2 separate regions of the Homo sapiens genome follow, and region 2 is linked to region 1. The links are contacts of gene promoters, found by promoter capture Hi-C in blood cells and fetal thymus (Javierre and others, 2016). All regions are on one chromosome and are shown on one strand. Each heading gives the region's core, a stretch centred on a gene start or on the middle of the fragment in contact. The rest is flanking DNA. Distances are from core to core; before and after follow the strand shown. Region 1 holds the start of PHACTR4 (phosphatase and actin regulator 4). Region 2 holds the start of SNHG12 (small nucleolar RNA host gene 12).

Evidence for each region. Contacts are between HindIII fragments. The CHiCAGO score rates a contact against its expected background, and 5 or more counts as called.
Region 2: a contact is called between the fragment with the promoter of SNHG12 here and the fragment with the promoter of PHACTR4 in region 1, in 15 of 17 cell types (fetal thymus, endothelial precursors, erythroblasts and 12 more). The highest score is 17.1, in fetal thymus.

The regions. Positions count from the first base shown.
Region 1 is chr1:28,367,662-28,373,344 of GRCh38, reverse strand. PHACTR4 (phosphatase and actin regulator 4) reads right to left here and starts at 3,605. Exons shown (of 14, transcript NM_001048183.3): 1 at 3,520-3,605. RefSeq lists a silencer at 3,232-3,451 and enhancers at 3,533-3,827, 3,478-4,433. The HindIII fragment of the contact is 7,867 bases long and covers 2,189-5,683 here.
Region 2 is chr1:28,579,604-28,584,633 of GRCh38, reverse strand. It overlaps SNHG12 (small nucleolar RNA host gene 12), which reads left to right and starts at 1,651. Exons shown (of 6, transcript NR_146382.1): 1 at 1,651-2,544; 2 at 3,405-3,523; 3 at 3,988-4,074; 4 at 4,653-4,722. It overlaps SNORA61 (small nucleolar RNA, H/ACA box 61), which reads left to right and starts at 4,741; the gene lies at 4,741-4,870. SNORA44 (small nucleolar RNA, H/ACA box 44) reads left to right here and starts at 4,122; the gene lies at 4,122-4,253. It overlaps SNORA16A (small nucleolar RNA, H/ACA box 16A), which reads left to right and starts at 3,581; the gene lies at 3,581-3,714. RefSeq lists enhancers at 2,484-3,269, 3,270-4,055. The HindIII fragment of the contact is 3,732 bases long and covers 908-4,639 here.

The DNA.
Region 1 (5,683 bases), core at 2,356-4,855:
CACTTCAGCCTGGGCAAAAAGAGTGAAACTCCATCTCAAAAAAAAAAATTATGTTTAAAACAAACAAAATAAATGAATAAATATATAGCTAGACACACTGGCTCACGCCTATAATCCCAGCACTCTCGGAGGCTAAGGTAGGAGGACTGCTTGAGTCCAGGAGTTCAAGACCATCCTGGGCAACACAGGGAGACCTCGTGTCCACAAAAAAATTAAAAAATTAGCCAAGTGTGGTAGTGTGCACCTGTAGTCCCAGCTACTCAGAAGGCTGAAGTGGGAGGATCATTTGAGCCCAAGAGGTTGAGGCTACAGTGGGCCATGATCATAGCATTTTACTCCACCTGGGGGACAGAACAAGACCTTGCCTCAAAAAAATAATAATAATCATAAAAATAAATAATATTGAGAAAATTGTCATGTTTGTACAATTAAGCAATAGTCAATAGTAACTGCTGTTTCTTAGTTTATTATTTCTGTGTTTTTTTTTTTTTTTGAGACTGAGTCTCCCTCTGTCGCCCAGGCTGGAGTGCAGTGGCGCAATCTCAGCTCGCTGTAACCTCCGCCTCCCAGGTTCAAGTGATTCTCCTGCCTCAGCCTCCCAAGTAGCTGGGATTACAGATGCCCACCACCACACCTGGCTAATTTTTATATTTTTAGTAGAGATGGGATTTTACCATGTTGGCCAGGCTGATCTCGAACACCTGACCTTAGGTGATCTGCCTGCCTCAGCCTCCCAAAGTGCTGGGATTACAGGTGTGAGCCACCGCGCCCAACCAGTTTATTATTAAAACTAGAGCAATTCTGTGGTTGCTTCTTCAAACTATAGCCAGGAAAACACAAAAGACCCTCACTCACTGCTGGATTAAAAATTGAAGAACTGCATTAAGGATCTACCATCCCTATACAGTATTACTAATACAATCTAGGATTCTCAAGAGTAAGTCACTTCCATTATGAGATATCAAACAAAGTAATACAGGGTGAAGGGCTTTATTTTGCCTACTCGGCTAGGGCAGGAATTAACCTATCTAACTTCAGTAACCTTCCCTGATTCATGTAAAGGGGTCCTCCTGGCTGTCCTCATCCCAGAGACTTGAAACACGAATTAACCTATTTTTCAAAAGGGTTATTTGCAATGACCTTCTTTAGAATTTTTTATTGGCCAGGCACGGTGGCTCACACCTGTAATCCCAGCACTTTGGGAGGCGGAGGCAGGTAAATTACTTTAGGTCAGGAGTTCCAGACCAGCCTGGCCAACACGGTGAAACACCATCTCTACTAAAAAAAAAAAAAAAATTAGCCGGGAGTGGTGGCACATGCCTGTAATTCCAGCTACTCGGGAGGCTGAGGCAGGAGAATCGCTTGAAACCAGGAGGAAGAGGTTGCAGTGAGCCAAGATCACGCCACTGCACAGCCTGAGCAACAGAGCAAGACTCTATCTCAAAAAACAAATACAGTATTCTTTATCTTAAGGTTTAATACCAGCACTTTGGGAGGGAGGATCACTTGAGCCCAGGAGTCCAAGACCAGCCTGGGCAACAGAGTGGGACCCCAATCAATACAAAAATTTTTTTAAAAATTTTTTTAATTAGCTGCGCTGGTGGCCTGTGTCTGTTGTCCCAGCTACTCTGGAGGCAGAGGCTTGAGCCCAGGAGGAGGTCCAGGCTGCAGTGAGCAGTGCTCAACTCACTGCACTCCAGCCTGGGAAACCCAGCGAGACCCTATTTCAAAAAATAAATACATAAAAATTGGCCAGGCACGGTGGCTCACGCTTGTAATCCCAGCACTTTGGGAGACCGAGGCGGGTGGATCACCTGAGGTTAGGAGTTCAAGGCCAGCCTGGCTAACATGGTGAAACCTTGTTTCTACCAAAAATACAAAAACTAGCTGGGCATGGTGGCACACACCTGTAATCCCAGCTACTCAGGAGGCTGAGGCAGGAGAATCGCTTCAACCTGGGAAGTGGAGGTTGCAGTGAGCCAAGATCGTGCCATTGCATTCCAGCCTGGGTAACAAAGTGAGATTGTCTCAAAATAAATAAATAAATATAAATAAATTAAATTAAATAGTCGGGCACAGTGGCTCATGCCTCTAGTCCCAGGCATCTGGGAGCCTCTGGTGGAAGGATGGCTTAAGCCAAGAAGTTCGAGGCTACAGTGAACTAGGAGCTCTCCACTGTACTCAAGCTTCAGCAACCAAGCTAGACTCTTGTCTCTTAAATGAAACAAACAAACAAATTTTACCTTAAGCTGATTCTAGCAATGCAGTCTTCCAACAGGAGGACATACACAGTTACCATTATCTAGCCAAATTTGATCGAATCCACAATCCACGCAGTTCCGCGGTTTCCGGTAAGAATCTACCACACCTCATCCCCTAAACTGGCTTCATTTCTAAACGGGCTTCATTCCTTTTTTTTTTAAGATGGGGTCTTGCTGTGTTGCCCAGGCTGGTCGCGAACTTCTGGCCTCAAGCGATTCTCCTGCCTCAGCCTCCAGAATAGTTGGCATTACAGGCGCGCGCCACCACGCCCGAAATTCATTTCTTTAATTTGGCGAAAAAGTAAGTGACTTCTAGAAGCCACTGGGTTTCTGGTTCCTCTATAAAGCAAATTCTTCCACTGAAGGACTTTTTCCTTCCACTGTTTGTTTTAAAAAGAACAAGAAAAGGAAGAGGTTGGAAGGAGCGAGGAGCTGAGTGTCCGAATGAAGCACTGGAGGGTTTTTTTTTTTTGCAAGCAATCAGTGATGCCCTGTAAGTCACTCTCCTCCGAGATTTGGGAGGTGCGTGAACTGCCATTCTACCATTCACCACTGGTTCTTTGGTCCACCGATCACAGATGTGAGCTGCACAGACATCGCAGCAAATTCGATGCCTTCCCGGTTTCCCGGAGCCGGGGTGTAGAGGGTGGGAGAGAGGGGTCGCTTCTTTTCCTTAATCTCATCTCTCCACCAAGAAAAACGTCGGGAGTTTCGTGCCCTGAAGCCGCCCAGGCTGATGTTTGAAAGTTAAATAATAACCTCCAGGTTTTTACAGAAACTCCGCCTGGCTCCGAAGCCCCCGTTCTGCCCAGCAGGGGTGCAGAGGTCTGAGGCAGGACGGTTTTGAAAAATGTACTTTGACCCGATCCGGTTACTGTAACCGGATCCCCAGGGAGCAGTCCCTGTTGGGGACCGGGGGAACAGGCTCCCCCGTGGCGGAGACTCCATGCACGGACACAAAGGGGGAGCAACGCAGCCCAGACAAAAGGGCCCAGCCAAGTCTCGGGGGGCGGAGAGGGCGAGCCTGCGCGGGCCCTGCCTCAGGCGGAGAAGCCCGGGTTGGACCGTTGTGGGAGGGCCGAGGAGGGAGGCGGCGGCCCCGCCCCGCCCTGGCCCGAAGCGACGGCGACCCGGGCCGTTACCTTCTGCCCGGACCGGGACCCTCTCGCAGAGCCAAGAAAGGGGCCGCAGCCTGAGAGGAGGCCGCAGCCTGATACTGAGCGCGTCCTGCTCACTTTCCCTTGCTCGCTGAACTTACCCAGATCTCCGCCGCCGCCTCCTCAGCCTCCACAGCAGCCTCTCCCGGAAATCCTACCTGGCCCGTTGGCCGCCAGGCAGCAGCCGGAGCCCTTGGCCCCCGGGGAGGGGGAAAAAGGGAGCCGGCTGGACAGTGTAGGGTAGGACGTGCCGCCGCGGAGGCTTACGGGACTTGTAGTCCCCAGCAGGGGCCGGTTGCCCGGCAAGCTGAACAAAATGGCGGGAAGCGTGCGTCCTTTCTCTCCGGGCGGTCGTCCTCCTTACGACCTCTCTGGGCATGCGCTGGCCGCTCTGCGCACCTTGTGTGTAAAAGAACTTGGGCACCTTTCCTGGTACTATGGGAGGCAAAGGTCTTTGGGCTTGGGAGGACAGGGTTCAATACTGGGCTCCAGGCAGTACCCAAAAAGGGAACTGATACAAGAGTGTTGTTTGAGAAAACTGTATCCCTGACTGGCCAAATTTCAATCATAACCTCCCCAAAGGAAAAACTATTTATTGAGGACCAATTTGAAGTGCAAAAAACGTACAAGCAAGTTATCTACCCTCAGTGTTGTGCGTAAGAAACCCAGGAATCATTCTGGACACTTCCCTCAAGCCATTAAGTCCAGTCATTCTACATCCCCAGTATTTTAATTCATTTCGATATCCTTCACTACTATCACCTAGTGAAAGCCACCATCACTTCTCTCCAAGTCTCAGTAGTTTCAGGCCCTAGGCTATCACCCTCCGAAAACCTTCCTTGCTGCTGCCAGAGGACCCTTCTAAATGCAAACCCATTGTATCACACAACCTAAATTAGACCTACATGTAAAACTTGAAGCTACGGCACATCTAGAGGACATTCCAGGAGAAAAATCGATGTGACTTTTCAAATACACTATCCATAAAATTAAAAAAATTGGCCAGGCGCGGTGGCGCATGCCTGTAATCCCAGCTACTCAGGAGGCTGAGGCAGGAGAATCGCTTGAACCCAGGAGGCGGAGGTTGCAGTGAGCCGAGATCTTGCCATTGCAGTCCAGCCTGGGCGACAGAGCAAGACTCCGTCGCAAAACAAACAAACAAACAAACAAACAAATTATCCGGGGCCTAGTGCCAAGCTCCTGTAGTCCCAGCTACGTGGGAGGCTGAGGTGAGATGATCACTTGAGCCTGGGGGGTCGAGATCGCACCAGTGCACTCCAGCCTGGGCAGCAGAGCAAGACCCTGTCTCAATAGAAAAAGAAAAAAGAAGAAAAAAAAATTGGCCGGGTGCAGTGGCTCACACCTCTCATCCCAGCACTTTGGGAGGCTAAGGCGGGAGGATCCCTTGAGCCCTGGAGTTTGAGACCAGCCTGCCAGCCTGGGCAACAGAGTGAGGCCCCATCTCTACAAAAACAATTTTAAAAATTAGCTGGGCATGATGGAACGTGCCTGTAGTCCCAGGTACTCAGGAGGCTGAAATAGGAGGATTATTTGAGCTGGGGAGGTCCAGGCTGCAATGAGCTGTGATGGTGTCGCTACACTCCAGCCTGGACGACAGAGGGAGACCTTGTCTCAAAAAAATATTTAAAATATATTTATTGGCCTGGCACGGTGGCTCACGCCTGTAATCCCAGCACTTTGTGAGGTTGAGGCTGGTAGATCACCTGAGGTCAGGAGTTCGAGACCAGCCTCTCCAAAATGGTGAAACCACATCTCTACTAAAAATACAAAAATTGGCCGGGCACGGTGGCTCACACTTGTAATCCCAGCACTTTGGGAGGCTGAGGCGGGCGGGTCACGAGGTCAGGATATCGAGACCATCCTGGCTAACGCAATGAAACCCTGTCTCTACTAAAAATACAAAAAATTAGCCGGGCGTGGTGGAGGGCGCGTGTAGTCCCAGCAACTCGGGAGGCTGAGGCAGGAGAATGGCGTGAACCCGGGAGGCAGAGCTTGCAGTGATCTGAGATCGCGCCACTGCACTCCAGCCTGGGCAACAGAGCGAGATCCCGTCTTAAAAAAAAAAAATACAAAAATTTATTGGGCGTGATGGCCCACCCCTGTAATCCCAGCTACTCAGGAGGGTGAGGCAGGAGAAGCGCTTGAACCCAGGAGGCGGAGGTTTCAGGGAGCCGAGATCGCACCATTGCACTCCAGCCTGGGTTACAAGAGGGAAACTCAGTCTCAAAAATAAAATTAAAAAAT
Region 2 (5,030 bases), core at 402-2,901, 210 kb before region 1:
AGGGTCTCACTTTGTTGCCCAGGCTGACCTCCAGCTCCTGGACAGAAGTGATCCTCCTGTTTCAGCTTCCCAAGTAGCTGGACTACAGGTGATCCACTGCATCTGCCTTAATATAATATGTATATCTATCTATCTATATATACACACACATAGATATAGATAGATATATATAGATATATTTTTTGAGAGGGAGTCTCGCTGTATCACCCAGGCTGGAGTGCAGTGGCATGATCTTGGCTCACTGCAACCTCTGCCTCCCAGGTTCGAGCGATTCTTATGCCTTAGCCTCCCAAGTAGCTGGGACTGTAGATGAGTGTCACCATGCCTGGGTAATTTTTTTTTTTTGTATTTTTAGTAGAGATGGGGTTTTGTCATGTTGGCCAGGCTGGTCTCTAGTTCCTGATGTCAGGTAATCCACCTGCCTTGGCCTCCCGAATTGGTGGGAGCTACTGCGCCTGGGAGATATACATTTTTTCTTAATGGTTTTTTGACAGCTTTATTGAGGCATAATTGACACAGAATAAACTGCACAAGCCTGGGCGAAAAAGCGAGACTTCATCTCCAAAAAAAAAAAAAAAAGTTTAATAATTTTACTTTTTTTCTTTTTTTTTTGAGACGGAGTCTCGCTCTTGTCGCCCAGGCTGGAGTGTAATGGCTCCATCTTAGCTCACTTCAACCTCCGCTTCCCAGGTTCAAACGATTCTCCTGCCTCAGCCTCCCAAGTAGCTGGGATTACAGGCGCCTGCCACCACGCCCAGCTAATTTTTGTATTTTTAGTAGAAACGGGTTTTCACCATGTTGGCTAGGCTGGACTTGAAATCCTGACCTCAGGTTATCTGCCCCCTCGGACTCCCAAAGTGCTGGAATTACAGGTGGGAGCCACCGCGCCCAGCATAATTATTAAGCTTTTAAAGCGTAAACAAACGGCCGGGCGCGGTGGCTCGTGCCTGTAATCCCAGCACTTTGGGAGGCCGAGGCGGGTGGATCACGAGGTCAGGAAATCGAGACCATCCTGCCCAACATGGGGAAACCCTGTCTCTACTAAAAATACAAAAAATTAGCCGGGCGTGGTGGCGGGCGCCTGTAATCCCAGCTACTTGGGAGGCTGAGGCAGGAGAATGGCGTGAACCCGGGAGCGGGAGCTTGCAGTGAGCTGAGATGGCGCCACTGCACTCCAGCCTGGGCGACAGAGCAGCTCCGTCTCAAGAAAAAAAAAAAAAAGCATAAACTACAAAAAAAAAAATTGACTCTTAGACTTCATAAAAATTAAAAAACTTTTAGCAGGCTGGCTGGCGTGTGGAGACCAGACTGTCGGGAGCAACAGCAGGATCTGGGAGATAAGAGACTATTGCTATCATCTGGGTCAACGATTAGGGTAACATCAGTGGAAGGGGTAAGAAACAGTCAGATTATTGATACATTTTAAAGGTAGAGCACACAGGAGTTGCTGATGGCTTGGACATGTGATGTTAGAGAAAGAGAGGAGTCCAGGACCACAGGCATGCGCCCCCACGACCTGCTAAAGTAGTACTTACTTTTTATTTTATTTTATTTTTTTGAGACAGAGTCTCGTTCTGTTGCCCAGGCTAGAGTGCAGTGACGCGATCTCGGCTCTCTGCAAGCTCCGCCTCCCGGGTTCACGCCATTCTCCTGCCTCAGCCTCCCGGGTAGCTGGGACTACAGGCGCCCGCGACCACGCCCGGCTAATTTTTTTTTGTATTTTTTTTTAGTAGAGACCGGGTTTCGCCGTGTTAGCCAGGATGGTCTCGATCTCCTGACCTCGTGATCCACCCGCCTTGGCCTCCCAAAGTGCTGGGATTACAGGCGTGAGTAACCGCACCCGGCAGTAGTACCTACTTTTTAAAGTGTAAGCAAGGAAAGTTGGCCCGCACCTGTAGTCCCATCTACCTGGGAGGCTGAGGTGGAAGAATTGCTTGAGCCCAGTTGGTCGAGGCTGCAATGAGCCTTGATCACGCCACTGCACTCCAGCCTGGGCAACAGAACAAGACCCTGTCTCAAACAAAAAAGTGTATGTAAGAATAAAAATTAATAGATTAGGCACAGGATGGGTGTTTAATTCTCGGCAATCACCACTAAGTTTTCATACTGAGGCTTATTCATTCCATGGGCAAAACATTGCGCTATGTGTGGTGCCTGGGGTGGGCTCCAAATTCCAGTCCTCTCCTCGCTTGCGATAGCTGTGTGATCCATTCCTAAGTTTCCTTATTTGTCCACAGAGCGTACACAGGGTTTTTATGAAAACTAGATCAGATAATCAGACACAGTTAAAATAGCACGCGCTCAGTAAAATTACATATTAGTGGAAGAGACAAGCCTTGAATAAATCGCCTTTCGGGGAGTATGACCCCCTCCCCGAAACCCACTCAGGCGCTGCTCGCTCGCACGCCCACTGAGCTCGGAGCGGAGCCCGAGCCCTTTCCCAGCACACAGGGTTCATTTCCAGACTGAAAGACATCCCAGAGACAACTCCAGAGGCCAAGGCGGGTCGGCTTCCTGCGTGGGCCCAGCGCCGGGCACTGAAAGGTGAAGGCGCTTCTTCCGCTCGGAGGAAAGCCTCTGGCGGTTCTCGCTTCGCGGGCTCGGGATGGACACGCGCGTAGGGCTGGGGAGGTGACGCGCGGACAACGCCGGGGCGAGCAAACTACAACTCCCAGGCAGCTGTGCGCCACGCGGGCGGCCTACTGTCGGGTGTGGCCGCGAGGGGCGGCCTATATAAGCTCTTGCTCGCGGCTTCAGCGCCCTTTCTCCCCGCCGCATTCCCGGTGTCGACTTACTAGCTGCAAGCCTCTGCCTGCCTTCCTGCGCGCCGTTCCCCGCTAGTCGCTGCTGCTGGCGCGCACTCGCCGGGTTTTTCCTCCCACGGCCTCGAGATGGTGGTGAATGTGGCACGGAGGAGCCGGGCCTTCCAACCCGGTGGGCCCGAGCTCCGAAAGGCCCCCTCGGCAGTGAGAGGGGCGGGAGCCCGCGGGGGCCGCGCCCTTCTCTCGCTTCGGACTGCGCAACGCTGCGCTCTGGGCTGACAGGTGAGTGTTGCAGGCAGGCGGCCGGGTTTACGGAAGGGGTGGGGGTTTGGGAACCGGTCTCCTGGGGGATGCGGGGATGAATCCCTGGGCCTGAAGTGTCTTAATTCAGGGGGAGGCCGCATGCTGGTGTCAGGATGGCCTCCAGTTGAATCTGTGACATTTACCAGCTAGGTGATTTTGGGACTGGTGACTACGCGCGAGACCTCTGGAGGTCGCCCTGGTAGACACGGTTTTCAGAAGGACGGGTTTTAGGCATTCAGACCCTTGCGTGCATCCCAGCTTGTTGCTTTCAGCCTCGCTAAGTGACTAAGCGACCTTCAGGAAGTAACTTAATCGGTCTAAACCTCTTACCTGTAATAGGCGGATAAAACGGTCCCATCAAGACTGAGAAAAAGCACACCAGCTATTGGCACAGCGTGGGCAGTGGGGCCTACAGGATGACTGACTTAGTCTACAGAGATCCCGGCGTACTTAAGCAGGTAGTAATGATGGACAGGTGAGGCTTTAGGCGGCCGCCCTGGGATCTGAATTGCCCCTTGGCCCTTATCGAAGCTGCAGCTGCTTCCGCATAGCTGCTGTGGTCAAAAAGGAGCCCAGAGTGACAGTTTTCCTTGACGGTCGCCGTTCTGTTTGTTGTAACTGATCTGCAACATTTTGGGAAAATACAGTTCCATTGTACCTGCCACCTTTCAGCTGTAGCCAGAGACCTTTATCAAAATGGGCTTGTTTCCACAGAACAGCAGAACGGTTGGGGGTTTGCATGTACAGTTAACCAGCATAAGACTCGTACTGGGAAAATCCAGCTGGGATGTGACACAGCTTAACTGATAGCTTAAGGCATCAGTATTGGGACCAAAGGCTGGTCAGATTTGTATCATTCTGAGGACCAAATGATGGGAACAATAAAATTGTTCATGACAGTTGTTCTCATTTTGCTGTCCAGATGAAGACTCTTAAGATGACAGAAGGTGATTTTTCTGGTGATCGAGGACTTCCGGGGTAATGACAGTGATGAAATGCAGGGGACCTGGTAGGTTTCTTTTGGAGACTAACTGGGGGCTGCCTGGTGGGACAGAACAGCATGTTTCCAAGGGCTGTGGCTGGTCATAGCCATGGGATCTCCAACTGCATGCAAGAGCAACCTGGAAAGACTTTGACAGCGCAGGTCAGTACAATACCTGCAAGCTGCCACTCAGCTTTCCTATAATGTTTCAGGACCAGGGCTGGAAGCCTTCCATGTGTCAACTTCAATGTAGATGGGTTTTTTTTTTTTTTTTTTTTTGAGACGGAGTCTTGCTCTGTCACCCAGGCTGCTGGAGTGCAGTGGCATGATCTCGGCTCATGGCAACCTCTGCCTCCTGGGTTCAAGCGACTCTCCTACCTCATCCTCCCGAGTAGCTGGGATTACAGGTGCCCACCATCACACCCAGCTAATTTTCTTGTATTTTTAGTAGAGATGGTTTTCACCATGTTGGCTAGATGGGTCTCGAACTTCTGACCTCGGGTGATCCGCCCGACTCGGCCTCCCCTTCCAAAGTGCTGGGATTACAGGCATGAGCCACCGCTCCTGGCCAGTTTAGTTTTCACGCTAAGCTTTTTGTTCTGCAGGTTGCCCCCAAGTTTCCTGGCAGTGTGTGATACTGAGGAGGTGAGCTTGTTTCTGGAGCTGTGCTTTAAGGTAAAGTTGATCAGCTTAATCCTCCTGATCCCTTTCCCATCGGATCTGAACACTGGTCTTGGTGGTCGTAAAAGGAGGAAAAGTAATAGTGAAGCTGGCCTAAATGTTGTAATCTGGTATATGGCATGTGGGCTAGTTTCAGACAGGTTTCAGAGATGGTTGGATCTCTGAAATTGTAAAATGAAGTATAATCTTAGGCTAAGGGAAGGATGCGTGTGAAGCTCTGGAGGTTGGTATAGTAATAGCTGACCTATTACTGCATTTGGGAGGGATCTGTCATAGCTTCCTTGCCTCTTAATTAAGGGTGG